Regions from separate parts of the Homo sapiens genome. Here region 2 is linked to region 1. The links are contacts of gene promoters, found by promoter capture Hi-C in blood cells and fetal thymus (Javierre and others, 2016). All regions are on one chromosome and are shown on one strand. Each heading gives the region's core, a stretch centred on a gene start or on the middle of the fragment in contact. The rest is flanking DNA. Distances are from core to core; before and after follow the strand shown. Region 1 holds the start of GUCY2C-AS1 (GUCY2C antisense RNA 1). Region 2 overlaps ATF7IP (activating transcription factor 7 interacting protein).

Region 1 (6,166 bases), core at 2,421-4,920:
TTGAGCCCAGGAAGTTGAGGCTGCAATGAGCTATCTTTGTTCTACTGCACTCCAGCTGGGCAACAGAGTGAGATCCTGTCTCAAAAAAAAAAAAAGAAAAAGAAAAAAAAGGAAAGAAAGAAAACATTCTTATTCTAATTTAGCTATACCTATCTTTAAAATATGTCCTACCATTTGACATAAATTATTCCACAGAAAACCGGGTTTGACAACTGGCAAAAATGAGCACAGAGACATATATTCTTACTCCATTTACATTTTACTGCAATAAGCTAAAAGGTTGTGTATTTCAGCAAGAAATACTTGACATATCAGGCTGAGGGGTGACCAGTGATCCTGGCCTTTACAGTCTCCCCTGTTCCCATACTGGACACATATTTGGGTTGCAATGATAGTTACCCACCTACTTAAGATTAGGTCCTATCATGTCATGAATAGCCCTAACATGACTTGGCCAGCTTTCACCCGTGCAAGCTGCACACTCACCATCAGCAGCAGGCAGGGCCACTCAGGATCTCCTGGGCAACGAGGCCTCAGGACAATCTGTCCATGACTGGCTTGGCCAGGGCTTGCCATAATGAGTGGTAATTCCATGTGACTAGGAAAAATCTTTAAGAAAAAGTCTTAAATCTGGACAGATATTTAGCCCAAAGATTTAAAAAAAAAAAAAAAAGTAGAAATACCATCAATAAAATTATTTAGAGCCAAGCGTGGTGGCTCATGCCTGTAATCCCAGCACTTTGGGAGACTGAGGTGGGAGGATTGCTTGAGGCCAGAAGTTCAAGATAGCCTGGGCAACACAGTGAGATCCCATCTCTACAAACATTTATAAATTAAGGCTGGGAGTGGTGGCTCACGCCTGTAATCCCAGCACTTTGGGAGGCTGAAGTGGGTGGATAACGAGGTCAGCAGTTCGAGACCAGCCTGACCAACATGGTGAAACTCCGTTTCTACTAAAAATACAAAAATTAGCTGGGCATGATGGTGCGTGCCTATAATCCTAGCTACTCAGGAGGCTGAGGCAGGAGAATCGCTTGAACCCAGGAGGCAGAGGTTGTTGTAAGCCAAGATCACGCCACTGCACTCCAGCCTGGGGAACAGAGCAAGACTCCGTCTCAAAAATATATATATATAAATTAGTGGACATAGAGGTGCATACCTGTGGTCCCAGCTACTCAGGAGGCTGAGGTGGGAGGATCACTTGAGCCCAGTAAGTTGGGGCTGCAGTGAGCCATGATTGTGCCACTGCACTCCAGCCTGGATGACAGAGCAAGACCCTGCCTCAAAAAAAAAAAAAAAAAAAAAAGAAAATTATTATATATTCACAAATGGAGCATCAGGCAACCAATTAAAAATAATTATTTATGAAGAATGTTAAATGACATGGGAAAACTTATGATGTAAAGTAATAGAAAAGTACAGCTTCTTATTTAATGAGATTCTAACTTTGTAAAACAATGCATAGAAATAAGACTGGAAAGAAATATGTTAAACTGTTAAGAGTGGTGTCCTCTGACTGATGGGATCCTGCAAGATTTTTTTTGCTTTATTCTATTTTTCTGAATTTTCCAAAATTTCCACAATGACTCTGTATTAGTTTCTTATTTTCAAAAAGTATTAAAAATTATAAGCTACAAATATTTTTATACCAGCCCCGCTCTACAGCCAGAAACTCTGAAAATTTGATCTGATATAAAGGGAACATTTCTGGTTTGAAGGGCTTGCTTGTGTCAGAGCTATACCTGCGTTTCTAGTTTTCTTTCACTCCATGAGTCAAATTAAGTCCAAAATGATTCCTGTACTTTTATCCAACAGGTATTAGCAGCTGATTAACGAAATGAGGGAGGGGGGAATGAAGATGGCATTCTTCTAGACAATAAGCAATCCTGAGCTGACTTCAGATTTATTGCTATGATTGCTTTTTAAAGTCGAGTTTTATTTAATAAGCTTTTAAAACTTTCTGGAACCATCTTCAAGCTTTCTAGTTTTAAACCAAACTTGACTTCTGAAATATATCTCTTTTCTCATGGGCTTCTGCAACTCTCAACTTCTTTTGTAACTTTTTGAGTTCAAATTATTTTTTCTTTCTTCTTAATTATAACTGTCAGTGACAAAGTTAGGTTTGTGTTTTTAATGTATTTCCTTCAAGTTTTTTGGTATTTTGGTTATTCAATAGGTCTGTGATTTCTAAAGTGCTGAACTTCTCAAAAAGTACTTTTTGAGAGAGTTCTCTTTACTTAAAGAGAACTGACTTCCTCAATGGTTGAACTAGTTTACAGTCCCACCAACAGTGTAAAAGTGTTCCTAAAGTGAACATTAAATATTCATACTATATCCTACAGGGACGTTATATTATCCTGAGCAACTTTACTTCAGCCTCAGTTAACTAACAACCTCAGTTAGCCAGAGCTTTTCAATACTTAACTGTTACTTACTACATTTAGCTCTAAACTTTACCAATGAAGCAATAATATAGGAGTTAAAAAGAAATTATTTAGGCAGGTAGCGAGGGTACAGGAGTCCTCAGTAAGGCTTTTTCTTTTCTTTTCTTACTCTTTTTTTTTTTTTTTGGAGACATTGTCTGGCTGTATCACCCAGGCTGGAGTACAGTGGTGCAATCTTGGCTCACTGCAACCTCTGCCTCCCGGATTCAAGCGATTCTCCTGCCTCAGCCTCCCGAGTAGCTGGAATTACAGGTGTTTGCCGCCACGCCCGGCTAATTTTTGTATTTTTAGTAGAGACGGGGTTTCGCCATGTTGGGCTGGCTGGTCTGGAACTCCTGACCTCACGTGATCCGCCTGCCTCGGCCTCCCAAAGTTCTGAGATTACAGGCATGAGCCACGGCGCCCAGCCAGGCATTTTCTTTTAATTGAAAACAGTCTCCAAACCATTTCTTTTCTAGCAAAAAGCAGCCTGAAAAGCTGAACTGCAAGCATAAATAAGCAAGCTGGAAGCTTGCGTAGATGAATGCCCGCAGCTGTACTAAAAGCCAGGTCCACCCAATATAGCGATTTCCCCTCCCTTTTCTTTGTAGCCATGTGTGGGGGTGTCATTGTGCCGGCCGGGTAAAGCCACATGTGTGGGTGTCATGGCGCCAGCCAGGTAGAGGCCGCATTTGCATAATAAAAGATTAGGGTGAGAGGGCCAGTTTCTTCAGGGCTATGTAAATGGCACACTGGTCAAACCAATCCCCTGGGCCCTATATAAATCAGACACCGCCTCCTGAAGCCTCCCTATATAACCTACTGCTTCCCACCACAAGCATGGTTTTTTCCCTTCAGAGCCCTCCTACCTCTCTACCGGTGAGCTGTTCTCTTCTTTCCTGCCTATTAAACTTTCCGCTACTTGACCCGCTCCGTGTTTGCGTCTGTGTCCTTAATCTTCTCGTCACGCGATGACGAACCTTGGGTATGTCCCCAGACAATGAAGCCGCTTCAGCAACTCAACCTTTGAAATAGTATAGAAATACGATATGCATGACTGGAACTTGCATCTGTGTGTACACAGCTACTAAGTAACAAAACATTTCACCAAGAGATTACACCATCCCTGTTCTTTCATTTATTTAACAAAGATATTTATTTAATGCCAGACAATGTTCTGAGCACCTGGGAAATAGCAATGGACAATGCAGATTTGGTGCCCGTCCTCATCCAAGTCCTCAGCATCTGCTTCCTGTATCACAAAAATGACGTCAAACTGACTTCCTGCATTAGTCCTGCCCACTTCCATCCAACCCATCCTGCTATCAGAAAGAAAGCACAAGTCCAATCATGTCACTGCACTGTTGCTAACATGTCAATTGGCAACTCTGCTTTACCTACAGAATACAGTCCAAGTTACTTAATACAGCACAAAGTGCCCGTAATCTCCCTACTTATCTTTTACTCACCTATCCCTTCCCCATGCTCTCAGCTTCCTCCCTACTTCCTTAAAGCGTCATGCAAATTTATGCCGCTGTGTCCTTATTTATGCTACTCCCTCGGAATAGAATTTATCACTTCTCCATAGAGGTGGGAAACATCTACTCATCCTCAAGATTTAACCGGAATCTCAACTTTCCTTAGCTTTTTTTTTTTTTTTTTTTCCTGAGACGGAGCCTCGCAGTGTTGCCCGGCCTGGAGTGCAGTGGCCCAATCTCGGCTCACTGCAACTTCCGCCTCCCAGGTTCAAGAGATTCTCCTGCCTCAGCCTTCCAAGTAGCTGGAACTGATTACAGGCACCTGCCACCGCGGCCGGCTAATTTTTATGTTTTTAGTGGAGACGGGGTTTCACCATGTTGGCCAGGCTGGTCTCGAACTCCTGACCTCGTGATCCACCCGCCTTGGCTTCCCAAAGTGCTGGGATTACAGGTGTGAGACACCGCGCCCCCTCAGGGCTTATTCTTATTCATATTTCCTTGCCCCAACACAGTGCCTTGGAATGAATAAATGAATGAATGAATGAATGAATGAATGACAACATGAGATAACTGAATATATTTCTACTCTGGACTCCAGCACTCATCTATACTCTGTTAATTTCAGTCAATTTATTTCTCTTTTCTAAGTGTGAGTTTCTTCCCCTGTTAAATCAAGAAGTTTATCAGGTTCCTTCCAACCGTAATATCATATGACCTTGAGGTTATAAACTCTCATTCATTGTGAGATGAGTTAAATAGAATGTGATAACTACAGCAGCCACCAGAAGGCAGCAGAAGCTTAACCTTGGAATTTAGAACTTGATACTGCGTTTATCTAAAAGGCAAAACTGAAAAGCATGTTTAATTAAAAATGACTACATTTAAATAGTATATTTAAATACTATATATAAATATTATAATTATATCTAATACAGTGAGATGTTCATACTGTAGGAGGCAGAGAATTGAGGTGGGCTGAGGAGTCCCCATATTCCCTCCAGTTTATACTCTAGTCTAGGGGATGTGCAATTTTGATAGACCAGTGAGTGGGATTATCTACACTGTTGAAAATGTATTTCTTGTACTCACTTTCGTTTTCTGGGGTTTAGGGCGTGAGAATGGTGGGAGTGGCAATAGTGGTGATAGTGATGGAAGTGGTGATTGTAGTAACAAACAGAATTCACCAGTTAAATGTGCCCATAATGCAAGTTCAACTCCAAAGTATGAATTTATTTCTGCCCCGATGAGAGTAGAAATCCAAAGTTCACATTTTCACCATTGAAAATTTCCCATGAACACAAAACAAGGTAATAGAGGCAAAGTCACATGTCTGCAAAGCATAAACCCTTCAAATTCAGCCCTTATACAAAGGAGCTGTAGTGTTTACCCCAAGCTAAACCATCTACTTCAGAAGGACATAATATGATTAAACAAAAACAGTTTTAAAATACATATGACATGAGACCCCTAATGGCACAGGAGTCTTTCTATATGAATTTATTTATGTATTTTAATGTCCAAGCACCTTCTCCTTGCCTCTTCTCAGGCAATAAGATGACCAGGGCCAGGTTTTTCTTCTATTATTTTTTATTAGCCATTTTTATTGATACTTTACCAGGTCTTGTGCTGGGTGCCAAAGGTGTAAGGATGAACAGGAATGAATAAGTAGGACATGGACTGTGCCCCCAGGAGTTTAGATTATGGTGTCATGATAGAGAATACAGTGTGAAGGTTTAGGATTCTGCTTTCATAAAGAAGTCCTAAAACCTCATTTTCGGGGCACCTACATCAATTATATTTTAGCACAGAAAAATTCACACATGGCTGGGCACAGTGGCTCACGCCTGTAATCCCAGCACTTTGGGAGACCAAGGTGGGCTGATCACCTGAGGTCAGGAGTTCGAGACCAGCCTGGCCAACGTGATGAAACCCCACCTCTACTAAAAATACAAAAAATTAGCTGGACATGGTGGCGTGCGCCTGTAATCCCAGATACTTGGGAGGCTGAGGCAGGAGAATCTTTGAACCTGGAGGGTGGAGGTTGCGGTGAGCCGAGATCGTGCCATTGCATGCCAGCCTGGGCAAAAAGAGCAAAACTCTGTCTCAGAAAAATAAAAAGAAAAATTCACACACATGATTTTAAAATCCAGTAGCAGATGTGTTCATAATGGAAAGTGAATGCACCTGATCCCACCTCTGTGCATCTCTGCTCTCTCAGTCACTTCTGCTTTTACTGTTTTGCATATCTAAATAATATGCTTCTAT
Region 2 (6,166 bases), core at 2,592-5,091, 250 kb after region 1:
ATGTAATCCATGTTTTCCAAAGGTGAGGTTGGGTCCAAATCTCCATTTTCATGGTTGCCATTTAACAGCTTGACATCAGTTTTCAACAGTTCTTCTTTGACCTTGTACACTGCTTCAAGTTGCTGACGATCACTCACTCTCATCGTTTTTCGAGCCTTAAAGACTTTTTTCTGAGGTTCTTCTAAACTGTCCATTCTGAATCTTTAAGAAAAAAGAGAAAGAGAGTTTAATAACTGAAACAGAAGCCACCTAATTGTAGACTTAATACAAATTGATCTTAGAAGAGATGCAAGCAGCACATTTCATGTAATGTTTAAGACATAGAAAACCTACTGCTTGTTGTATACTAATTATCATATTTACTGCATCTGTGTAATACAAAATCAAAAATGGCCATAGTCTACTAGAAAATCAACTAGAAAGTATTAGGGGGAAAAGGGACAAGTTTTTTTTTCCAATATGGAATTCACAGAGTATGGAGATGTTTAAGCAAAAAAAAGGTAGATAAAGTAAAAAAAAAAAAAAAAAAAAAAAAGTACCTGAAGAAAATGAGAAAGAAAAATAAAAGTGTAAGAACAACAGTAGGGAAATAACAGGTATAGAGATAAAGGAAAAAGGAGGAAGAATTAAGAAACATGTAAGGAAAGATTACATTTGCAACCAAGCATACTTAGATTGGCAGAACTATAAACATATTAACAAAAGATTACCATCAAGAAAGAAAATTCACAACAATGGGAGAAAATATTTGCAAATCATATGCCTGATAAGACTTTTATCTCGAATCTAGAATTTCATATCTAGAATACAGAATATATATTTATATAGAATACAGACTTTTATATCTAGAATATCTAAGAACTGCTATAATTCAATAATAAATCACCCAATTTAAAAATGGTCAAAGGACTTGAACAGACATTTCCAGAAAGAGACCCCTAAGCCAAAAGTCCATAAGCAATAAACATCATGAGACATCAGGGAAACGCAAGTCAAAACCACAATGAAATAACACTGCACACACGACAGGACGGCTACAATCAACGAGAATAATGAGTGTTGGCAAGGATGTGAAAAAACTGGAACTTTCATACAATGATAGTGGGATTGCAAATAGGTGCAGCTGCTTTGGAAAACAGGCAGTTCCACAATATGTGAAGTACAGAGTTGTCATATGACCCAGTGATTCCATTCCATTCATTTCCCAAGAGAAATGAAAACATATGTCCACACAAAAACTTGTACACAAATGCTCTATAGAGGCACTACTCATAATGGCCCAAAACTGGAAACAACCTAAATGTTCCATAACTGATGAATGGATAAATAAAATGTGCCATACCCCTACAACAGAATATCATTCAACCACAAAGGGGAATGAAGTACTGAACATGCTACTACATGCATAAACCTTAAAAATATGCTGAGTGAGAGAAGCCAGTCACAAAAGGCCACATACTGAATGATTCAATTTATATGAAATGTCCAGAGTAGGCAAATCTAGAGACAGAAAGTAAATCAGTGACTACCTAGGGTTGGAAGATTCTGGAGAAAATGAGGAGTAGCTGCTAAAGGGTACAGGATTTCTTTACAGGGTTATGAAAATGTTCTAACATTGATTATGGTGATGATTATACAGCTCTGTGAATATACTAAAAATAACTGAATTGTACTTTAAGTGGGTGAATAGTAGATATGTGGTTTTATCTCAGTAATGCCACTACAAAAAAATTTCAAAATAAATACAAAGGTTGTGTGTGTGTGTGTGTGTGTGTGTGTGTGTGTGTGTGTGTGTGTATTCTCTTTTTTTGGTAAGTTGTGCTACAGTTTTATCAATTCTATTCACTTATTAAAGTATGAACCTTTACTTGGCTGATATTTCTTGGTTTTATATCTGCTTTCTTGTTTTAATTATTTACTCTAATATTTATTATCTCTTTTCACTTACTTTTTCTTGGAAAGAGCTTAACATGTCATCCTTTTCCTTGAGATTCAAGCTTAAGTGTTATTTTCAATCTTTCTTCTTTTGTAATGTGTGCATATAAAGCTATAAATTTCCCTCTAAGAGCTGCTTTAGTTGCATCTCACATTTTAATGTGTCATTTACATTATTCTGTTAAAATATTTTCTAATTTCCATCATGATTTCTTCTTTCATCTATGACTTATTTAGAAGTAGGTTTCTTAAAAAGGTAATGAATTCTGACCAAGTGAAGCTCGCTTAGAAAAATACAAGGCTGATTTCACATTCAAAAATCAAGCAGTGTTGACCATGAACAAGCCATGATGCATTCTGACTTTATTTCATGCCCAGCAGAGTGTACAATTACGAGTTTTGCCTAAACTGAATGTCTGGTACCAGGATGTTACTGACTGAATTGTGCAGCATCCCACACCCCACATCCCCAGAAAGATATTAGTCTTAAGCCCCAGTACCTCAGAATGTGACCTTATTCGGATAGGGCCTTTACAGTGGTAATCAAGGTAATATAAGGGTACTAAAGTGAGCCCTAATCCAATACAATTGGTGTCCTTATAAAAAGGGGAAAATCTGGACACAGACAGACATGCACACTGGGAGAATGCCATGTGACAATTGAAGTTATGGTACCACAAGCCAAGCAACTACCAGAAGCTAGGAGAGAGGCCTGGAACAGATCCTTCCCTCAGCACCCTCAGAGGGAGAATGGCAATGACAACACCGTGATTTCAAATGTGTTGCCTCCAGAACTCTGAGACGATAAACTTCTGTTAAGCAAAAAAGAAAACCACAAAACAAATCAAGCTATTTAATTCACCACATAAACAGAACAGAGGGACAAAATCAACAAAGGATTACCTCAACAAATACAGAATATTCATTTGACAAAATTCAAGACTGATGCATAATTACAACTTGCCAGAAACTAAGAATACAAGGAAACTTACTCAAATCTGATAAAGGTTATCTACCAAGAAAACTAGAGATATCATGTCTGATATTGAAATAGGATCAGAAGAAAACAAGGATGTTTCCTGTAACCATTTCCTTGTTAACATCTGGCCAGTGCAATAAAGGCAAACAAAAGAGCACAAGGATGTGGTTCTGAAGAAAAACAATGTCATCAATCAATAGTAGAATAAAACAAAATTGCTTTAAGGACTAAGATGTACAGGAGGCAGGAATACTGTTTTCACATTGGATAGTCACTTACCATTACCATCACCAGTAGGAATGATATGGTAGAATACATTTGCTTTGGCCTGAGAAAGAAAGAAAAGCAGCCCCTGATGCCTGGAAACTTAACTGATACTCACAGTTAGGGCTCAATGTTGTTAATGGATCTGATGCTTACAGTTAAGCCATGCTGTTCTCTGGTTGGACATAAAACCAACTCAGAGAACATTCAAGTCAGACAAGGTCACTGTGCAACCCACAAAATTCCAAACATCCCCCCTCACTAAATGAGTGATGGCTATTTCTTTATTTTTTTTTTCTTTTTGAGACGGAGTCTCGCTCTGTCGCCCAGGCTGGAGTGCAGTGGCGTGATCTCGGCTCACCGCAAGCTCCACCTCCTGGGTGCATGCCATTCTCCTACCTCAGCCTTCCGAGTAGCTGGGACCACAGGCGCCCGCCACCACGCCCGGCTAATTTTTTGTATTTTTAGTAGAGATGAGGTTTTACCGTGTTAGCCAGGATGGTCTTGATCTTCTGACCTCGTGATCCACCTGCCTCGGCCTCCCAAAGTGCTGGGATTACAGGTGTGAGCCACCACACCAGGCCAACTTCTTTATCAATTACAGCTTTATCTTGTAATAGTCTGTCCTCCCTATATAGATAAAATTTATTGAGATACCCAAGAATAGAAGTGCCCCCACTTTCTGATGTCACCCAATCCACGATAAGGATCTACTTCCTTAATCTCTCCCCAAAATAACCCAACCTATACTATACTCAAATCCTATACTAGGTTTTTTCTAACATCCTCTTACTGATTGATGTGCCTTACAGTTTCCCCATAGTGAACATTATTTCCTCCCTGCAGCAAATAGTAAACCTAACTTTTTCAATTACAAAGGTGTTCCTGCTGGTCTTTGGCTGAAGCGCATAAAATAATAAGCCTAGCCTACTTGCTGGAAGCCAATTCAGCTTGAGATTCTAGCACTTTGTCAGAGAATTTCTAGACTGTGATACATTCTGTATTCATTCTCTCACTTTAAGCCAATTACTTAGAACATATTTCTTATTCTAGCCATTTTATTTAAATTATATAACTAAATCAACTATTTAGAAAAATTACTCTTCATTTAAACAGAAACCTTAATACAAAATGTATATATAATAATACAAAACCTTAATACAAAATTATACAAAATTTGTATAATATAATACAAAACATTATGTTAAGGGTTTTTAATTACAGACTAAAATTTCACACCTTCAAGGTTTTTCCCTTCCCATCATTACAAAGTTTTGCTAACTGCAAAATTTTCTGCAAAAGATACAGATACAATGCATTGTATTTTGCTGTCACTTTTCCTTACTAATTCCAAAACTACAAAATAATTAAGTTTATAATATAAGTAGTATAGTTACCCTTTAAGTATTTCAAAATACTGAAAGGCCATTCTTTTGAACTTTAGCCTCATAATATCCGCATTTCTCAGATATTAGATGGACAGCTGGTAGTTATTACCAATTGCATTAAAAGTATTCCTTTTAAAAAATTCATAACTTTTAATAACCCAATTAAGAACATGAACTCTTACATTAAAAGTAAGCATTCCTTTAAAAAAATTCATCACTTTTAATAACCCAATTAAGAACATGAACTCTGTAGACTGTAGACAGATTCACAGATTTGAATTCCAACTCTCCCAGGAAACCTACTGTGTGAGACTGGGCAAATTACCTAACATCAATTTCTTAGTTTTGGTTACCTTAAAAAGGGACTAATACCAACACCTGTCACAAAGGTTGCCATGAGAACTAAATGAGATTCTATACATTAAGCACTTGGAATGTAGTAAGAACTCAATAAATGGTATAACCATCACCATCTATATATTCAGGATAACGTTTTTAGGAATAAACTAAATATTCAGGATAATGTTTTTAGGAATAAACTAAAGAGTCTAAGACAAATTCCTCTTTGGTATTTTTTATATAAATTAGAAAATCCAACATGTAAACCTCACAGTTAATATTAAATTGCCACCACCAAATAATATTTAATAAAAATATATAATTCAAGAAAAGTTGATTTTATCAATAAAATTGTCATTAACTTCAGTAATAATAAAGCACTCTAAAAAGAATTATAGAATAACTACCATCCATACCCACAAGGGAGCACACTACAGCCATTTACCAGATCTTATGGGTTCTAAATATAATAAAAAACAGACAAAGCAATAAGGAAGTAACACGAACAATTAGTTCAAACTAGTTCAGCCATATCTGTACAAACCAATCAGCAGTCTGCTTTTAGAAATGTATTTTGCATTAGCGAAGCATATTTGAGAAAGATACACATTAGAGAAGGGTGTGTTACCTGCAAACAAGTTTCCATGGCTGTAATACCAGTGCAAAACACTTCCAAGGATCATTTTAGTACTGTCGCCTAGAACTAAGATGCCATTCATAAAACTATTCTATAAAATAAATGTTAGTATTTTAGGTGGCAACTCAAATCAGAAAGCTTTCACATGACTGTAATTCATTTTCACAGAAAAAAGCATTGGTATTTTACGGCAGAAGATGTCTGCCATGTCTAAAAGTAACTGCAAAACATGATGAACTAGTTTCTCCTGAAAGTATTTTTTTCATGAGGATGAGAGTCAAAATAATGTTTTTTAAGTCTCTGTATATTCAAGAACTCTGGGAAAATAATATCACTAATAAAACCTTTTTCTATAGAAATTTATATTTAAATAACCAGAGAAGGGTATGTTACCTGCAAATAAGTCTCTCTGGCTTGGAAATTTTTTTTTCAAATTTTTGGTAAATTATTTTTAAAATATTTTTAAGGAAAGCCCAACGAGCTTCTTCTTTAAATGAAAACATTACTCTCTTCTCTGCTTCATCCCCCTCCACCCACTTCTTTCTAGCAAGAGATCATAGCAATGAAACAACAAAGGGAAGCTGTTATGTCTTAGCCTACAATCTGCCTGCTCAAAAAGCTCAA

Evidence for each region. Contacts are between HindIII fragments. The CHiCAGO score rates a contact against its expected background, and 5 or more counts as called.
Region 2: a fragment that was not itself captured here is called in contact with the fragment with the promoter of GUCY2C-AS1 in region 1 in 1 of 17 cell types (total CD8 T cells); the score reaches 5.0 in total CD8 T cells.

What each region holds. Positions count from the first base shown.
Region 1 is chr12:14,663,140-14,669,305 of GRCh38, reverse strand. It overlaps GUCY2C-AS1 (GUCY2C antisense RNA 1), which reads right to left and starts at 3,670. Exons shown (of 6, transcript NR_186173.1): 1 at 3,609-3,670; 2 at 3,293-3,447; 3 at 1,160-1,277. All of the region lies in intron 10 of GUCY2C (guanylate cyclase 2C), which reads left to right. The HindIII fragment of the contact is 1,745 bases long and covers 2,957-4,701 here.
Region 2 is chr12:14,417,944-14,424,109 of GRCh38, reverse strand. ATF7IP (activating transcription factor 7 interacting protein) reads right to left here. Exons shown (of 15, transcript NM_018179.5): 2 at 1-201. The coding sequence starts at 194. Among named protein-coding and RNA genes, the nearest start is that of ATF7IP, 55 kb to the right of the region's middle. The HindIII fragment of the contact is 3,683 bases long and covers 2,000-5,682 here.